7 separate regions of the Homo sapiens genome follow, and regions 1, 2, 3, 4, 6 and 7 are each linked to region 5. The links are contacts of gene promoters, found by promoter capture Hi-C in blood cells and fetal thymus (Javierre and others, 2016). All regions are on one chromosome and are shown on one strand. The core of a region is centred on a gene start or on the middle of the fragment in contact, and the rest is flanking DNA. Distances in the headings are between cores, read along the strand shown.

What was found. The method cuts DNA at HindIII sites, captures the fragments that hold promoters and counts their contacts. A CHiCAGO score of 5 or more calls a contact.
Region 1: a fragment that was not itself captured here is called in contact with the fragment with the promoter of EPC2 in region 5 in 6 of 17 cell types (fetal thymus, neutrophils, erythroblasts and 3 more); the score reaches 8.5 in fetal thymus.
Region 2: a fragment that was not itself captured here is called in contact with the fragment with the promoter of EPC2 in region 5 in 6 of 17 cell types (naive CD4 T cells, total CD8 T cells, activated CD4 T cells and 3 more); the score reaches 7.6 in naive CD4 T cells.
Region 3: a contact is called between a fragment that was not itself captured here and the fragment with the promoter of EPC2 in region 5, in 1 of 17 cell types (neutrophils). The highest score is 5.3, in neutrophils.
Region 4: a contact is called between a fragment that was not itself captured here and the fragment with the promoter of EPC2 in region 5, in 1 of 17 cell types (fetal thymus). The highest score is 5.1, in fetal thymus.
Region 6: a contact is called between a fragment that was not itself captured here and the fragment with the promoter of EPC2 in region 5, in 7 of 17 cell types (erythroblasts, fetal thymus, naive CD8 T cells and 4 more). The highest score is 8.7, in erythroblasts.
Region 7: a fragment that was not itself captured here is called in contact with the fragment with the promoter of EPC2 in region 5 in 3 of 17 cell types (erythroblasts, fetal thymus and megakaryocytes); the score reaches 7.7 in erythroblasts.

What each region holds. Positions count from the first base shown.
Region 1 is chr2:147,952,424-147,955,123 of GRCh38, reverse strand. ORC4 (origin recognition complex subunit 4) reads left to right here. Exons shown (of 14, transcript NM_181741.4): 8 at 2,600-2,700. Among named protein-coding and RNA genes, the nearest start is that of ORC4, 67 kb to the left of the region's middle. The HindIII fragment of the contact is 2,948 bases long and covers 1-2,700 here.
Region 2 is chr2:147,992,443-147,995,142 of GRCh38, reverse strand. All of the region lies in intron 1 of ORC4 (origin recognition complex subunit 4), which reads left to right. It overlaps LOC105373674 (a long non-coding RNA gene), which reads right to left. Exons shown (of 5, transcript XR_007087258.1): 5 at 1,908-2,166. Among named protein-coding and RNA genes, the nearest start is that of ORC4, 27 kb to the left of the region's middle. The HindIII fragment of the contact is 3,315 bases long and covers 1-2,700 here.
Region 3 is chr2:149,556,714-149,559,413 of GRCh38, reverse strand. No RefSeq gene overlaps it. Among named protein-coding and RNA genes, the nearest start is that of MMADHC-DT, 29 kb to the left of the region's middle. RefSeq lists a silencer at 2,665-2,700. The HindIII fragment of the contact is 4,195 bases long and covers 1-2,700 here.
Region 4 is chr2:147,837,749-147,840,448 of GRCh38, reverse strand. No RefSeq gene overlaps it. Among named protein-coding and RNA genes, the nearest start is that of ACVR2A, 5.9 kb to the left of the region's middle. The HindIII fragment of the contact is 1,977 bases long and covers 384-2,360 here.
Region 5 is chr2:148,643,357-148,646,056 of GRCh38, reverse strand. It overlaps EPC2 (enhancer of polycomb 2), which reads right to left and starts at 1,306. Exons shown (of 14, transcript NM_015630.4): 1 at 887-1,306. The coding sequence starts at 1,039. RefSeq lists enhancers at 1-132, 729-1,233 and silencers at 223-312, 1,073-1,652. The HindIII fragment of the contact is 14,369 bases long and covers 1-2,700 here.
Region 6 is chr2:147,929,288-147,931,987 of GRCh38, reverse strand. It overlaps ACVR2A (activin A receptor type 2A), which reads right to left. Exons shown (of 11, transcript NM_001616.5): 11 at 1,166-2,700. It overlaps ORC4 (origin recognition complex subunit 4), which reads left to right. Exons shown (of 14, transcript NM_181741.4): 14 at 1-1,592. Among named protein-coding and RNA genes, the nearest start is that of ACVR2A, 86 kb to the right of the region's middle. The HindIII fragment of the contact is 328 bases long and covers 1,279-1,606 here.
Region 7 is chr2:147,971,600-147,974,299 of GRCh38, reverse strand. ORC4 (origin recognition complex subunit 4) reads left to right here. Exons shown (of 14, transcript NM_181741.4): 3 at 776-852; 4 at 1,471-1,561. Among named protein-coding and RNA genes, the nearest start is that of ORC4, 48 kb to the left of the region's middle. The HindIII fragment of the contact is 4,438 bases long and covers 1-2,700 here.

The DNA.
Region 1 (2,700 bases), core at 82-2,581, 690 kb after region 5:
CAGTATATTATTGATAGAGATAAATGTGATTTTTTACAACAATAAAATTATTTTACCTATTTTGTAATAAGATTTTGATCTGCATCATCATTTTTATGGTTCTTGTTTTATAAGGTGCTATTTATTAATCACCAATTATGGGCTTTTGTTTCTAATTTTTTATAATTAAGAAGAGATACTTTGATGATCATCCAGATATTTCCTGGGATAAATTTCTGTGGGTAGAATTCTGGGTTAAAAGGCACCATCTTTAACATTTAAAAACTACCCTAAAGGTTTAATTTGTAAAAATATTTGATAATACCTTTTTCTTCACAACCTCAAAAACAATTATTATTTTTATGTTTGCCCATATAATAGAAAAACTTTCAGCTCTTAGTTTAATTTGAATAATTTTGTTCTTTAATTTGCATAATTCTGGTTACTTAATTTGCATAATTCTGATAGTGGTGATGCTTGTCATTTCATATTTTTATTGACCTTTGAAATTTCCTGGTTTATGTACAGTCATGTGCCACATAACAACCTTTAATTCAATGATAGACCACATATGTGACAGTGGTCCTATTAGATTATAAAACCATATTTTTACTGTACCTTTCCTGTGTTTAGATATGTTTAGATACACAAATACTTCGCATTGTGTTACAGTTGTCTACACTATCACATGCTCATAGGTTCATAGCCTAGGAGCAATAGGCTATGCCATATAGCCTAGGTGTCTAGTAGGCTATACCATCTAGGCTTGGGTAAGTACACTGTTAGGATGCTTGTACAACGATGCAGTCACCTAACAATACATTTCTCAGAACGTATCTCTGTCATTAAGGGACACACGACTGTATTTCCTGTTGGGTCTTTGACCTATTGTGGTAATGTTTATGTTATGCTTATTTATCGGAATTTTTGTGTTTTATTTTTCTCTTCCCTTAAGTTTGGTTTGGACTTTTCTGCTGATCTAAAGTTTTATGTTTTCCACATAGTTAAGTTTATCTAGAAAGTTTTTTCTCTCCTTCAGATTATAAAAACATTCATTGATCCATCTTTTTATTTAATATATATATATATTTGTAATTTATAATTTGTTTGGAATTTATTCTGATTTTACCTGTAAAGTAGGGATCTGACTTTGAATAGACTAATTTTCCCCACTGATGTATAATGCAATATTTTATCAAATACTAAAATTCTATATTAGTACATAAGTCTCTTTCTAGACTTTTGAGTAATCCCTTTGGTTTTGTACCAGTATTAAGTCATTTAGGCTACTGTATTTGTTATTTGTTGAAATAAGTCTTTCTTTTATCAGATATTTGTTTCACTTTTTAACACAAATATAAAGGCGTTAAGCCTAAGGTAAAAGGGATTCTTTTACTAAAGTTGTTTCCATTATTGAAGTGAGAAAAATGTAACCAGAGGGTGATGTGGAACTTTCCCCATGAAAAGCATTGTAGTTGAAATGCTAAAAGTTGTGCTTCAAGGGAGTTTAAGTGGCTTTAGTTGAACTTTATAATCTACAAGTTTGTTTATAAAAAGTATTTCTACAAGAAATGTACCTTGTATTTCTACTAAATAAACAACTCTCTTTTAAAGCATTAGTTTTGTTCATTAATTAGTGACTCCCCTTATATTTTAATCTTAAAGTGTTTTGGTTCTGTGTAGGTATAGAAAACTCTGTCAATTTTATAATCATTAAATAAGAATTATATTTACGTAATTATAAAAATAATAGTCTTTAGTCATTTAAATGATTTTTGACATTTTTCAACAACAAACTCTACTAGAGTCTAGGAACTAGACTGCACTTTTTATTTTTTGGAGATGGAGTTTCACTCTTGTTGCCCAGGCTAGAATACAATGGTGTGATCTCAGCTCACTGCAACCTCTGCCTCCGCAGTTCAAGAGATTCTCCTGCCTCAGCCTCCCAAGTAGCTAATTTTTTTTTTTTTTTTTAATAGCAGAGATGGGGTTTTACCATGTTGGCCAGGCTGGTCTCAAACCCCTGACCTTAGGTGATCCACCTACCTCGGCCTCCCAAAGTGCTGGGATTACAAGCGTGAGTCACCATGCCCGGCCTAGACTGAACTTTTTTTTTTTGAGATGGAGTTTCACTCTCGTTGCCCAGGCTGGAGTGCAGTGGCACGATCTTGGCTCACCACAACCTCTGCCTCCTGGGTTCAAGCAATTCTCCTGCCTCAGCCTCCCGAGTAGCTGGGATTACAGGCATGCGCCACCACACCTGACTAATTTTGTATTTTTAGTAGAGATGGGATTTCTCCATGTTTGTCAGGCTGGTCTCGAACTCCCGACCTCAGGTGATCCACCCACCTCAGCCTCCCAAAGTGCTGGGATTACAGGCATGAGCCACCACGCCCAGCCTAGACTGAACTTCTTGAGAGCAGTCGGGGCTGTGTTTGTCCTTTGAATAATTTTTTTCTGTTGAATGAACGTATATGCATCAGTAAATCCCCTACCCAAAGTAGGCTATCAGAATGTTTACAGAATTGAGTTTTAAAAACTGAAATATAGTAAATGGTTTGGAAATTTAGGAAAGGTGGATATAATTTCTTATTAATGTAATGCTCTTATTTTATCTTAGGTGACCGAACTAGCAGTTGCCCAGTGATCTTCATATTAGATGAATTTGATCTTTTTGCTCATCATAAAAACCAAACACTTCTCTATAATCTTTTTGACATT
Region 2 (2,700 bases), core at 55-2,554, 650 kb after region 5:
AGAGTGCTGATTGGTGCATTTACAGTCCTTTAGACACAGAGCGCTGATTGGTGCGTTTTTATAGAGTGCTGATTGGTGCATTTACAATCCTTTAATCCACAGAGCGCTGAGTGGTGCGTTTTTTTATTGAGTGCTGATTGGTGCATTTACAGTCCTCTAGCTAGACAGAAAAGTTGTCCAAGTCCCCACTCGACCCAGGAAGTCCAGCTGGCTTCACCTGTCACCAAGTAGCTGGGATTACAGGAGCCTGCCACAATGCCCAGCTAATTTTTGTATTTTTAGTAGAGACAGGGTTTCACCATGTTGGTCGGGCTGGTTTCGAACTCCTGACCTCAGGTGATCCACCTGCCTTGGTGTCCCAGAGTGCTGGGATTAGAGGCGTGAGCCACTGTGCTCGGCCATTTTTGGAGTTTTATAGTTTTGCATTTTATATTTAGGTCTGTGATCCATTTTTAGATTTTTTGTGTGTGAAACTTGTAAGGTCTGTGTCAATTCATGTTTTGGCATGTGTATGTCTAGTTTTTCCATTACCATTTGTTGCAAAGATTGTTCTTTTCTCCATTGAATTGCCTTTGCTTATTCGTAAAAGACCAGCTGACTATGTTTATGTGGGCCTATTTCTGGGCTCTGTTTTGTTCCCTTGATTTGTCTGTTCTTTCACCATTATCACACTGTATTGATTAGTATAGTTTTATAATGTCTTGAAGTTGGGTAGGTTTTGTCCTCCAACTTTGTTCTCCTTCGGTATCGTGTTGGTTCTCCTGGGTCTTTCTGTGTATACTTTAAAATCAGTTTGTCATATCCACAAAATAACTATCCAGAATTTTGATTGGGATTGCATTGAATTTATAGATCAAGGTTGGAAGAACTGACATTTAACAATACGAATTTTTTTCTACTCTTGAATGATCTCATTTATTTAGACTTTCTTTGATTTCTTGAATCAGAGTTTTATAGTGATCCTCATAGAGATCTTGTACATATTTTGTTAGATTTATATCTACATTTTTGGTGAATGTTTTTTGTTGTTGTTGCTAATGTATATGGTATTATTTTAATTTCTAATTTCAGTTGTTCATTACTGATACATAGGAAGGAAGTTGACAATTTGTATATTAACCTTGTATCCTGCAACCTTTCTACAGTAGTTTATTAGTTCCAGTGATTTTGTTGTTATTTTGGGATTTTCTACGTGCATAATCATAGCATACTATTGGGACAAAGAATGATGAGAAAAGGTATATAAAGAATGATAAAAATATAATAAAACAGTGTATTTGAGCCTATTTCTTCATAGTTGATCATCAATTATTGTCCCATTGATAGCCTTTTAACTTTGGGGAGTAAAAGGGATTGCAGAAAAGGATGAAGGTAGGGTACCAAAGTTCTAAGCCATATAATGCTGTCTTTTTTAAGCCCCCAACCCCCTAATTTTTAGCTCTCCTTTTCCCACCCAAAAAGCACAACTGTCTAAAAATCCTATTTCATTGTAAATGTCAACTGACATTTCCATTTATCCTTGCAAGATTACCTAAGCATGCTGATGGGGGGATGGACAACATATTCATTAGCAAAACAGAATTGGAGAATATCGTTTCGTTGACTCTAGAATTTAGTCTCCTGTGCTTTTTGCATAAGCTGAAGGGTCTCATTAGAAACAATGTATTATTCCTAAAAGTTTTTAGGGAAAATTTTAAGATTTTTCTAGGATAATTTCTAGGGTAATTTCTAGCAATTCTTAAATAATTTATCTCTAAAGCAATGTTATTTTCAGTTTTTTTTCCTTCCAAAAATAGTTTAATATTTACTAATTAACTTACTGGAGTTGTAGCATATTGTAGGGGCCAAGAAAAAACTTCCCTTTCAGCCTCTGAAGGTTCTTTGAAAATCAGCTGAAAAAAGGCAGATTAATAGGAGAAAGGGCATATGATTTTATTTGATCTTGGTGTTACGTGACATGGGAGCCTTCAGAATAAAGACCTAAAGATATAGGAGAAAACTGCCCATTGGTATGCTTAGGTTCAGCAAAGTCTGGACAGCCATATACTGAGTGGGGAAACCCAGCAAGGCCTGCCTGTCTGTATAGATTCTTCTTGGCCTCTCTGTGCAGCATTCTTTCCTTCCGGGTATGGAACAGCACCCTTTCTGGAATGGGGATCCTATGACCTACAATCAAACAGAATAGGTCAGATATGTCTTTATAGTTAGTTTTTACACAGAAAGATGAGGGCAGGGAACATTAGAGTAATATATTTAGGTTCTGTGGCTGGCTTTGGGGAAAGGGAGTTCTGGTTTCTGTGGACTACCTTGGGGACGAGGGATGGTAGTTTCAGTGGCTAGCCTCAGGAGAATGAGAGGCCAGAGACAGGAAGTTAGGAGATGGTCAGAGAGAGCTGCTTTGGAGGACTTTATTTTGGAGTATCATTTCCTTAGCCCTAGCAGTATCATACTTACATTTAAGTAAACTCAAGTCTGTAAACGTGGCAAAGGAAAAATTTATTTGAATAGTGGACAGTATTCTATTCATTATTCTTCTCAAATGAACATATACCCTGAAGTAATTGATATTGCAAGAAAGTACAGTTCTGTAATTTATGTGTAGTTTGGGGCTTTTCAAGGAAAATTTGTCTACATGTGCCTTCTCACCCACCAATTTTAGTGCCCTAGTCTTAAATCTTGTGTCCCATATAATGCAACCAT
Region 3 (2,700 bases), core at 61-2,560, 910 kb before region 5:
TAGGGGTGCCGACCACCCCAACCCCAGGCTGAGTCAAAAATCCACATATAACTTTTGACTCCCCAGAAACTGAACTACTGACAGCCTACTGTTGACTGGAAGCCTTGTTGGCAACATGAGTAGTTAACATATTTTGTATGTTAAATGTATTACATTCTGAATTTTTTTTTTCCTTGGGCTGGAGTGCAGTGGCGCGATCTCAGCTCACTGCAAGCTCCGCCTCCTGGGTTCACGCCATTCTCCTGCCTCAGCCTCCTGGGTTCACGCCATTCTCCTGCCTCAGCCTCCTGAGGAGCTCGGACTACAGGCACTTGCCACCACGCCCGGCTACTTTTTGTATTTTTAGTAGAGACGGGGTTTCACCATGTTAGCCAGGATAGTCTCGATCTCCTGACCTCGTGATCCGCCGCCTAGGCCTCCCAAAGTGCTGGGAAATAAACTAGAGAAAAGAAAATGTTAAAAAAAAAATCATGAAGAAGAGAAAATATATTTACTCTTTATTAAGTGGAAGGGGCTCCTCATGAAGGTCTTCATCCTCATTGTCTTCATGTTGAGAAGGCTGAGGAGGAGGAGGTAGAGGAGGGATTGTTCTTGCTGTCTCAGGGGTGGCAGAGGCAGAAGGAAATCTGAATATGAGTGGACCCGGGCAGTTCAAACCCAAATTGTTCAAGTTTACCTCTAACTATAAATTACCCAGTTTGTGGTATTCTGTCAAACCAGCCCAAACGGACTAACACGGTATAAAAATAATTAAATCATTTAAAATTTTATGATTCACAGAGGTTTTCTCAAACTCTACACCTTTCCTTTGCTTTTTACTTAATCATATCCAATATACGTCCACTCTGAATTAGTAAAGTTTGACGTTTGATGCTGACATACTTCATGTCTGCTCCAAGTCGTAGAGCTTATGGCATGTCTAGAGACTCTTGGAGGAGAGGAAATCTCAGCTGGCCCTTGAAAGGCAGGCGGGATTTGAATAGTGAGCAGAGGATATTCCAGGAGCTAAAACATGAGACTAACACAAGAGAGTGGACTGGTTTACCTAGAGTTTCCTTGACTGCAAGGACTTGGGAAATGAGGCTAGAAAGACACCTTGGGGCTAGATTGAAGGAATTTTTAGTTCCAGAATAAGGAATTCACCGATATGCTATAGCATTAAACATTGAAGGTTTTCAAGCAGAAGAATAATTCGATTAAATCAACTTTTGGAAAGATAGATCTCCTGGTGGTATAGGATATAAACTGTAGGCAAAAAGTAACTGGCAACAAAAAGACTACTGTTGTAATGGGGTAACTCAAAGGTAATAGAGGCCTAAATTAGGGTGGTGGCCGTAAGAATGAAATAAATATTCCAAAGTAGAAATTAAAGCAGGAACTGACTGCTCCCTAGGTCTTGCTGTCCAATCCCACTTCCAGCAATCCAAACAAAAGACTGCAGTTTTCAACATGGATGACTAAAAGAATAATAATAATAATAGCACTGGTAATAATAGTAACAAGCCAACATTTTCATCGTGCTTACTGTGCCCAGCACTTAGCTAAGTGCTTTATACATAATGCATATAATCTTCATAACAACCCCATGAAATAAGTATTATTATTCCCATTTCATGGATCAGAAACCTGAAGCAGAGAGAGGCCAGGTGATGAGTTTAAAGTCGCATGGATATTGAATGGCAGAGCCAGGACTGGAACACAAGCAATTGGGCCTTGGACCCTAATGCCTAGCCTGGTGGTCTCACTACCAAGTACTAGTTTGCAGCATATAGCCCTCTTACATTTATGTGGTAAAGTTAAAATGGTGGTGAATATCTGCATATACTTAGAGTTGGGAACCTAGAATTCAGAGAGTAGTCAGGATAGAGGATGTAAAGTTGAATGACAAGCATACCTCACTCAACTTGAATATTTGAAACTCCATTATTGCATTTGATGATAGAATTTAACCCACCGATCTTCCACAGCTCAGGAGAGAGGGTGTGGTAGGGGTGGGATCAAAACAATAAAGATTTTCAGACCCATTGGAAAGAGTTTTGACAGGCTTTGTCATCATACCTCTCAGCAGTTATGCTCTGCTTATCTTTTGTTCTCTGATGTATGCTAATAATTTGCTACGTGATCATGTACTATTTTAATTTCCATTTGGTTCTAGGAAATCAAGTCGCTTATAATATTTTCATGCTCATTCTTATGTTCCAACCTTTAACAACTGTTTTAGGATTCTGAAATTTCTCAACATTACAACATGCATGAAATATCATGACTAGTTCAGTTATCCAGATACTCATCCAAAATCAAAGGACTGTACAGCATCGTGGTTAAGAGACTGGGGTTTGGAAAAAAACTCCTGAGTCTGGATCTCAGTTGTGCTATTTACAAGTTTTCTGACCTTGGGCAAGTTCCACTTCTGTTAATACCCATCTCATGAGAAGATTTAAGGTTTAGGAGGGATGACATATGCAAGCCATTTCTTACTATTCCTGTGGAAGAGGTCAGTAAATTTTAGCTGTTCTTATTATCTGACCTCTGAATGTGTACAAATTTTGTGGACAACTAAACAGTAAAAATTACCCCCAAATATATTTTCCTAAAATTATAATACAAACATCTTCAAGAGGACATGTATTTGGCAGAACACTTTAGTATTTAATCTCACCACAACTTTGGAAAAGTAATACCATCACAAACAATTCATCA
Region 4 (2,700 bases), core at 123-2,622, 810 kb after region 5:
TTTAGCTTCCTGAGTAACTGGGACTACAGACGTGTGCCAAACATACCGGGCTAATTTTTTTTTTTCCATTTTTTTGTAGAGACGGCGTTTTGCCATATTGCCCAGGCTGGTCTTGAACTCCTGAGCTCAAGTGATCTGCCTACCTCGGCCTCCCAAAGTGCTCAGATTATAGGTGTGAGCCACTGTGCCCGGCCTCAAGTTCTTAGTAATTCAATTTTATTGTACTTTGACTTCACAAAGGTCTCACAGATTGGAAATTCATCATAGAGGATCTAAGAATGGATTTCCTACTGGAGTAGAAAGCAGACTATATACACAATTCTTTCTCAAAAAAAAATGGCCTTCATCCATTTTGACAAGTGCTTAAAATCTCGAATAAAGCTTTGATGTTATAGTCCTGAAATTTTCTATAATACAAGTCCACATAAGGGTCAGTCATTTTCATTACACTCTCTGTGGCATTCATCTATTCAACAAGTAATTATCAGATACAGAATTTGTGCTAGATTTTGGTTGTACAAGTGTCGAATGAAATGGATATAGTCTCCACCATCACTGAGCTGACAGTATCACGAAGAAGACAGGAAAACAGCCAGTAAACAAGTAATTCCCAAATGGAAAGGATTATTTATAAAAGCAGACAGAATGCTAAGATAAAGAGCAATGGGATAGTATAGGAAGAGGGGAACTATTTAGAGAAAATGATTCAGGAAGGACTTACAAAGGATGTGACATTTCAACTGAAACCTGGAAGATGAAAAGGAGATAACCATGAAAGAAGCTAGTGAAGAAGAAACAGTACAGATGATGTATTTAAGAAACTGAAAGAAGGCTCTCATGGCAATTAGGAGAGTAGTATGAATAAGGAGAGAGAGGAAAATAGGCTCCAGTCCATGCAACAGCCTATGGACCAAAGTAAGGTCCTTGGATTTTATTCAAAGTGAAGTAGCAATCCATTGGAGGGTTTTAAGTCAGGGAGTTGTGTGGTCTGGCTTATGTTTAGTAGATCACTCTGGCTGTTACATGAAGAACGAGTTGCAAGAGGTTACCAAAGCAAGCGGAGAAATTAGTTAGAAGGGCATTATAGTAAGTCAGACATGAGACGATAATATTGTAAACTAATACAGAAGGAAGTGGGCAGATTTAAGATATATTCTGGAAGACATGCTGATGGATTGGATGACTCCTACTTTTTTTCTTGAGCAAATGAGTAGAGGTCATGTCATTTATTGATATGGGGAAGATTTAAAGGGAAGAGATATTATAGGGCAGAAATTGGAAAGATGAATAGTGAAAATACTTAGTTTTAAAAATGTTATATTTAAGATGCCTGTGAGACACTCAAATGGAGATAGTGTAACATAAGCAAGTGGATCTACGTGACTGAAGTTTGGAGCAACATGCAATGCTACAGATATAAATCTGGGAGTTGTCACCATGCAAATGGTATTTAAGGCCATAGAAATGAATGAGAGTATCTAAATAGGGAGGAGAGAGAGAGAGAAGAATAAATGTAGCAATCAAGTGGAGGATTAAAAGCCAGGAAAGGGGATAAAGAAGTGGCAGGCAGAGATTAAATAAAAACCAGGGGCGACGGATGTCACATGTGGGCGTGTTTCACAAAAGGAAGATAGGGTCAGTGTTGAATCCGATAGAGACATACAGCAAAATGAAAAACAAAAATGTAAGCCATTGGATGTGGCATCATAGAAGGAATTAACATCCTTGAAAGTAGTTTTAGCAGAAGCTAGATGGAAATATTTGAAGTCAATGGTAAATGAAAATTTAGAAACATCAAAAATAACAAAGCCTTGGCCCGGCGCAGTGGCTCATGCCTGTAATCCCAGCACTTTGGGAACCTAAGGTGGGCAGATCACCTGAGGTTGGGAGTTCAAGACCAGCCTGGCCAACATGGCGAAACCCTGTCTCTACTAAAAATACAAAAATTAGCCAGGCGTGGCAGTGCGTGCCTGAAGTCCCAGCTACTCAGGAGGCTGAGACACAAGAATTGCTTGAACCTGGGAGGCGGAGGCTGCAGTGACCTGAGATCGCACCACTGCACTCCAGCCTGGACGATAGTGCAAGACTCAGTCTCAAAAATAAATAAATAAAAACAAAATACAAAAATAACAAAGCCTTAAAGACATTTGGCTATTTAAAAAAATCAAATAAATGGGGTGGTGGCTAAAGGGAAATGCACAATCAAGAGAGGATTTTATTTTGTTTCTCTTTTCAGAGGAGACATCATAAATTATATATGTAAACTCATAGGTATGGTGCCATAGGAGGAAAGATTGAAAATGCAGAAGAAAGGAAAACTGAATGGGCAAAATACTTGTGAAGGCAAGAAAGGACAAGCTTCAGAACATGAGAGAGTTAGGTTGGCCTTTGAGAAGAGAGTGGTTGTTCTCTTCCTCTTCCTCTTCTTCCTCCTCCTCCTCCTTTTGAGGCAGGAAGGGCAAGCAGAAGCAGATGAGTTTGCAGAAGCAGATGAGTTTACAGAACCGAACATTGGAGCATAATGGCAATCCCAGCTGAGGGCTCTTCTTTTCTCTGACATGTAAAGCAAGGTTTTCACCTTAAAGTGAAAGGGGCATGATGAAAAGGTATGAAAGAGTCCTAAGTGAGACTGGAGAGAGAGGCTTTATAGTGGAATTGCCAGGGTTGAGTGCCCATTTGAGATTGGTGACTCCAGTCTAC
Region 5 (2,700 bases), core at 57-2,556:
AAATCCAACCGTCTGCAAAATTTAACCCATCGGAGGAAAAGCAGCAATTTTCCCAAAAGGTGCTGTATTATCAAAATTACAACTGCCAATTTAGATGCACTAGGTCCTCAACTTCTAAGGACCACCTCGCAATGACAATTCTCGAGGACAACGCAACGCCGGCGGCTCGCTTCCGGGCATCCCCGGCTCCTCTCTAACGTTGCGCACGGAGCACGGCCGTCCAGGCGGAGCAGGCAGAGCCCGTCCGCCCCGCGCCCGGCTCGGGTCGGCAGAACTGGCCGGCGGGCGGCCCTCGGACGCTACGACCCGCTCGGTAGTCGTGGCCCCCGCCCTCCCCCGCCGCAGTGCTGCACCGCCTCATCCCGCTGCACCTTCGCGGGCGGGGGAGCCAGGATGATTACATTGCTGGGAGGAAGATGTTTGTTTTGAAAGCACCCTTCCACAGTCATTTCAAAGAGAACTCAATACAAAGCCAAAGTTAAAAGTGGAAAAAATAATAATCTTGCCTAGCCAAATAATACCACGCCATTAATTAGCCCCGCGCCTGAGAGAGGGAGGTGGAAAGGTAAACAGAGACCGTACGCCAAGAGCGGCCAGCGCATCCCCTGCGCCATTCCCGGCCGCCGCTTACGGCAAGGCCCCCTTACGGCAGCGTAAGCAGCGCTGCGAGCTAATCACAACACTGGGACGCAACAACATGGCGGCCGCGGGCGGGCGCTACGCCGGCCGAGAGGGTTTACGCTACTCCGCCGGCGTAGAGTCCCGTGCGTTAGAGCGGCAGCGGCGCCCTCCAGCGAGCGTAAAGCGCTCTGTGAATGGCGAGGCCCGACTGACAAAGGGGAGGGGGGAGGAGGGAAGGGGGGGTAATAAACACTCGAGTCCCTACCGATTCCTCCTCCTTCTCCATCCCGGTGGGCATCTGGGGCACGGCCCGGTTGATGGAGACGCAGTCGTTGAGATCAGGCATGTCCTTGCCGCGGTAGATAGGCAGCGGCTTGGCGGCGTCCAGCGCCCGCGCTCGGAAGGAGAGTTTACTCATTGTCTCCCCGCCTTACAGGAACAGCCCGGGCGGCGGCGGCGGGGCGGGCGGGGAGGGGGGGAGGACTCCCGCCGCCTCCTCCACCTCCTTCCTCAGTGCAGCGCGGCCGGCCCGCTCCTCCTCCTCCTCACTGCCCCCGGCCACAGCATGGGCGCCCACCCCGCCCGAAAACAGCCCCCCGCGCCCGCGGCCGCCTCCACACACTAGATCCGCCGCTCGCCCGCCCGATCCGCTCCCTGCGCCATGGCCAACATGGCGGACATTACCACAGCGGCGGCGAGCGATCCCGGCAGCCCGCGCGAGAGCGCGCCCCCGTCGCGGGAACGCGCCTCGCCCTCTCCCTCCCTCCCTCCTTCCTCTCCCTTCCCCTCCCTCGCCTGCCCACCCACTCTCTCCGCGGCGCTGCCGGCCCGCGGGAGCGTGCTCGGTCTCGGTCCGCTCCGGGGAGAGGGGGCGGGGGCGGCGCCCCTCCGCTCGCTGGCCGGTGCTTTCGCTGTGTGGCAGGTGCCAGGTGCGCAAGTTCGCCCGCGCCCGGGAGCGTGCGCCTCTCCCGCCGCCGCCCGGTCACCCCTCTCGCTGGGTGTCCCGGAGGAAGGCGCCGGGCAAAGACGGCTGCGCCGAGCAGCGCGTGTGTGCAGAAGTCCGGGAGCGGGAAGGGAAAATGTCGACCCGGACCCCACCAGCCATCACCCAAGCCTGTACTTGGACAGCGCTATCCCCAAGGCGCCCTGTGCGCAAGCTAATTCGCATCCTCCGAGGCGCACATCCCCGAGAGGTGCAAGAGGTCTCTCCCATCAGTCCCATCAGTCCGTTCGGAGGACTGGACCGCGCTGCTGGTGCCAGCCCTCTTCTACGCCCTCCCCTCCGTACCTGTCCGAAAGAGCTCTCCAAGGTGCAGCAGCGCGTTCATCCTCGCTTTGCAGTGAGGGTTCATGGTTTGAGGCTGCCAGATGCAACAAGTGAACTTAGGTTCCCTGTCACCCAAACTTCGGTACAGCTGTTTAGTGGATGGTAGGTATTTTTCTGAGTTCAAAAATAGTAGCTTTCCTAAAAGTTCAGCTTCTAAAAATTTAGCCAAGGCAGCACACATTTGCGAAGTAGCAGATGTGTGTCAAATGTGGGGTGCTGTGGAAGACTCGAAGAAATCTGAGAAAAGGTTCCTGCCTCAGAGAGCTTTCACCTTAATGGGATGCCAGGATGGCTGGAAAGATGAGTAACAGAGACGTAAATAGTTGAAGAAAATGACAGCTGGAAAGATAAGTGACAACCGAAAAAAAAGTGTAAATATTTTAAGAAAACAATACAAGAGATGACACAGGCAGTAAGTAGCACATGATTAATTACCAAACGAGATCTAGGCAATAATTGTGAGAGTTCAGAGAAAGGAAAGGAGGCATGACTGCAGCCTAAACTGGTTAGAGAAAGTTCTCAAGAGGAGGGAAAATCAAGGTGACTCAAATAAGTACTAGCTATTGTTGACATCAACCTGGTTTAGCCAAGAGGCTCTTGGTTAGTCTTTAAGCATTACACATTTCTCACAAAACCGTACAAAGAGAGTTTTTAACACATTTTACCATTTTCTAATAATCGATCATACTCTAACTCAGAGAAAGTCAGATGATTTCCTAAAGACCAACAGTGAAAAAATTGATTCCTACTGT
Region 6 (2,700 bases), core at 193-2,692, 710 kb after region 5:
ACCCTTTATTTCCTTCTCCTGCCTAATTGCCCTGGCCAGAACTTCCAACACTATGTTGAATACGAGTGGTGAGAGAGGGCATCCCTGTCTTGTGCCAGTTTTCAAAGGGAATGCTTCCAGTTTTTGCCCATTCAGTATGATATTGGCTGTGGGTTTGTCATAGATAGCTCTTATTATTTTGAAATACACCCCATCAATCCCTAATTTATTGAGAGTTTTTAGCATGAAGGGTTGTTGAATTTTGTCAAAGGCTTTTTCTGCATCTATTGAGATAATCATGTGTTTTTTGTCTTTGGCTCTGTTTATATGCTGGATTACATTCATTGATTTGCGTATATTGAACCAGCCTTGCATCCCAGGGATGAAGCCCACTTGATCATGGTGGATAAGCTTTTTGATGTGCTGCTGGATTCGTTTTGCCAGTATTTTATCCAGTTAGAATGGCAATCATTAAAAAGTCAGGAAACAACAGGTGCTGGAGAGGATGTGGAGAAATAGGAACACTTTCACACTGTTGGTGGGACTGTAAACTAGTTCAACCATTGTGGAAGTCAGTGTGGCGATTCCTCAGGGATCTAGAACTGGAAACACCATTTGACCCAGCCATCCCATTACTGGGTATATACCCAAAGGACTATAAATCATGCTGCTATAAAGACACATGCACACGTATGTTTATTGTGGCATTATTCACAATAGCAAAGACTTGGAACCAACCCAAATGTCCAACAATGATAGACTGGATTAAGAAAACGTGGCACATATACACCATGGAATACTATGCAGCCATAAAAAATGATGAGTTCATGTCCTTTGTAGGGACATGGATGAAATTGGAAATCATCATTCTCAGTAAACTATCACAAGAACAAAAAACCAAACACCGCATATTCTCACTCATAGGTGGGAATTGAACAATGAGATCACATGGACACAGGAAGGGGAATATCACACTCTGGGGACTGTTGTGGGGTGGGGGGATGGGGGAGGGATAGCATTAGGAGATATACCTAATGCTAGATGACGAGTTAGTGGGTGCAGCGCACCAGCATGGCACATGTATACCTATGTAACTAACCTGCACAATGTGCACATGTACCCTAAAACTTAAAGTATAAAAAAAAAAAAAAACATAGCTAAAGAAAAACTGCATATGCAAATCATACCGTATTCATTTTTTTATTTAACTTGGGGATGGAATGGGGATAGCATACATTTTATTTGTACAATATTTAACAATCACTTATCCAAGGTGGGGTTTTATGGGGATTTTAAGCTTTCTGTTAAATACTTGCAGAAAAAATAGCAAGTACGATTTGACAGTAGTACAATAACCTGTGCCCAAAACACAAGAAATACAGAGTAAAGCGAAAATAACTGCTTACCAATATTCTGAGAGGTAACAAATGGGATATGGGTTGAGACTGCATAAAAAACGTACTGCTGGTTGAATATCTGAGGTAAATGATGTTCAATCAAGATGCTACTTGTATCATTTTGCCCATAAATGGATAAATAATTTTATGCATATCATACCAAATGTTCCTAAAAAGTAATCTTTCAAAAAAGTATAAAAGAGAAACTGGAAAGTATCTGTGATGAAGCTTCTTTCTTTAAAAAAAAAAAAAAAAACAAAAAAACCAGTAATCAGTTTATTCCACTAAACCACCATCTCGCCATGGTTTTTTTTCCCCTACCACCTGCATTTTACTTAAATGTAGCTGTTACTTAGGGGTGAGGAAATGCAACAGAAGAGATTCTTTTTAAATTTCATGATATGATTCTATTTTAAATTCCAAAGGTGTTGGGTTTTTTCCTGATTGTATTTTCAAAACATCACCATGAAAGATAGATAGTGCAAGTTCATGGGACTAACAATCGTGAAGCACAGTCTCTTTTTCTGGAATTCACAAGGTACCTAGAATTCAAACAAGAATCACACATCACATGCTAAAAAAACTTCTAGCATCTAAAATACATACAAGAGCTGTGCAGGGCATAGACTTCAAATAAAGCCGAACACTGGTTAATCCATCAGTCCTATGGCAAGTTGATCATAAAGCATTCCTTACGCGGAGATCTGGGCAAGGTAAAGAGTATAAGTTAGAGCAGCAGCAGTTCTGATGGGTATCAGAAAGGCAAAATACAAGACGAGTCATGAGGAGCACCATACACATGAGGAAAGAGTTATTTGGGGGGTCTCAGTTTGCCCCAAAATGGATCACCATTTTTCTCATTCTTTGATCTTTTTTTTTTCCAGTATCTCTAGCTCAAACTTTCTGTTAACTTGCCCACTCTGCACTGACTGTAAACCAAACACTAAATACCCTGCAAAAGAAAGTTTTAACAAGACTAGGTATAAGGACAGGTAGTCACTGGAACATTCTTATTTTACTGCTTATAAAAAGTTTTTCTATTAATAATAGTTCTCAAAAGAATACAAGTTTTAAAATTGGTTAGCTACAGTTAAATACAATACCCAGGATTTCTAAAAATTTTTTCTAACTTGAAAACATTTTATATTGTGAATAACTGGGTTTAAAAATTTTATCTCTAGTACTCACATAAGCCAAACATTCATCATAATATCCCTTGTTTATTTTTGTTTAACTTTTAAAAAGAAAGTTAAATGTTCACAACAGGTAGAAATTCATCTTCAGGAAATTAATGATTTTCTTGTATGCACATTCTCAATATTTT
Region 7 (2,700 bases), core at 56-2,555, 670 kb after region 5:
TTATAGATACAGAAATTAAAATTTAGAACAGACTTAACCTTTTAAAATTCATATAATAGACTCTTCTGGAGCCAATGTCCTTACTCTTTAACTTCCTCGATAATGAACAAGTATGTATTGTTTTGTCCCTAATGAATCATTTTCTTTGCTTTGCCTCTGTACATGGAACAAGAACTCAGATTTACTTCTTTGGTACATGAAGGATTAGTTCCATGCTGTCAGTCTAGGAGAAGCAAATATTCTTGGAGCCTTTTTATTCCAGTTCATGGGGCCAAATCTGAGATAGCACCCTCAGGTTGTTGTCCTTGAAAGACCTCTGTATTAGCTGCAGATCCAAAAAAGGAACGACTTTAATGGTCCATCTTTTTAAAGAGTATGGTAGATTATCTGACATAATTTTTCATGACTAAGTCTAAGGCCTTAGTTCTAAGATGACCTCAAAATATAGCTGCTTACAAGAATTCTTTTCTTAACTCGTTCACATGCATTACAATGGCCCTTAAGTTGCTAATATAGCTAAAGTCAGTGATTCTCCCTCTTGTTGAAACCTTCACAACTAAATTCTCATTCTTCCTATGGGACTTGAGATAGGTAAGAAATCCATTAATTTTTTAACATATGAAAATGGTGCCAGAACTCTAGAGGATAAGAATTTAGGGAGGGTTGAATTGATTCATTAATACCTAATTCTGACTATTGTAAATGTGCTTTCTTATTTATTTTTTATATCATGTGTAATATTTTTATTTATATTTATTCACTTTATTTTCATCAGGTACAAAGAATTTTACGTGAAAGATTTTGTCGTCAGAGTCCACATAGTAACCTATTTGGAGTGCAAGTACAATACAAGTAAGTCTAGCTGTCCTCTTGACTGTTATGGACCTACTTACAGATGCCTTCCAGGTTTTGCAAAAATTATTGTACAAATTTGATATTAAATAAAGCTAACAAACACTTTTATAGAAATAAAAAATTTTGCTTTGTGAATAGAAACACCACATAGCATGAAGCAGGAGCAGATACAAATATTTCCATAATGCAATAGCACTTTAACTTTCAATTTTGTTTTGTTTCTGTTATCTGATACTGTGGAGAGAATTCTAGCCATCTTGCCCTTAATACCCAGCAGCCAGCTATGGAGTAAAAGTCCAGAGTATTAGTAGGAAAAGAGATTTGAATCCAAGGGTCCCGAGAGTTGCCACTATTGTCCCTTGTCCCCTACTATCGTATAAATCAATATATTCCAATCTGACTACGTTTTCACCTGAAGATTTCAGAGAATCAATACTGCCCTACTATTTCTTTTGTATTTTTCTATTTAGGACCATTCAGAAGCTAGGCCAAGTACCCAGAGGGAGAGAAGAGAGGAAATTTCTGTGCATATTCAAATATGCCTTTTAAAAACTACAACATAACAAAGTATTCCAGCTTCATTTTTAAAATTTTGTCCTATTTATATCATTTTAGACACTTAAGTGAGCTGCTGAAAAGAACTGCTCTCCATGGAGAGAGTAACTCTGTCCTTATTATCGGACCCCGAGGATCAGGAAAAACTATGGTAAAAGCTGTTGATTTCTGGTGTTTGTTGGCATGTGATGATTCTTATTTTATATAAGAATAAATAAATTCATATATAAATCTTATTTTATGTAATACTGAAAATACTTTTCATTATTTTGTAATGTTTTACTTTTTTGTTTTTTTCTTTTTTAATCACAGAAGACATGTAAAACTTTATAAACTTAGGGTGGTATATTTGAGTGTAGCAGACCTTTTTCCCCCTTATTTGTCCTCCTAGTGAAAAATTGTCAATTGATGTTTGTTCCAACATGGTCTTTTGTCCTTAAAGAAGTAGAGATTTCCAGTGGAAAAAGAAAATAGCATGTATTGAGCATGTACTATGTGTCTTTTTATTGTGTTCTCTCATTTATTCTTTACATCAACACTGCACGGTAGGGTTTTTCCCTTTGTTATAGGTTAGGGAACTATCATATCATGCATTCTTTTTATTTTTCCTACATCATTACTATTTGTTTAACCCTAACTTACACAGTTTTTCAGTGCATGCTCACATCTTATATCATTCTTGTCTCCTTTTGCTCTTTATCATATTTGCTTAGTTACCTCAAAAAGATATTCTTACTTATTTCCCTTTACTCTTTTCTTTGATATCCTTTATGCAATATAGGAGACAAATTATGGGTGTTAACTTTTGAAAGCAATTAATTTCAATGCTAAGTAGTCTGTGTAAAATCTGTTCTCATGTATTATATACAATAAATTTCAATTTTTGACCAATGTACTTTAAAAAAATGGATGAGAAGCAAAATTTTTTTTAACATTTAAGCAATGTATATTGAAATTACATTATTAAGATGAGTACGTTAGGATTTTACTGTTATCACATCTGAAGTATTGTTTAATATAAATTGAGAATTTAGATCTAGGTAATTTCTTTCAATATTTCACAAATTGTCACATTTATATATAATCATATTTGCAGTAATTTTTTAGTTTCAAATCTATGTTTAATTTGTTTTAGTCCTCATACTCAGCTTCTATAATCACTATTTCTTCATTCTTGAGTTTTTTATTATGGTTTTTCTTTGCATTTGAATTCACTGTTATTTTGGGTAGTTTTCACAAGAGGGCTATGTGAAATGTTTTTAAATTTCAAATTTTTAAATTTTTAAATTT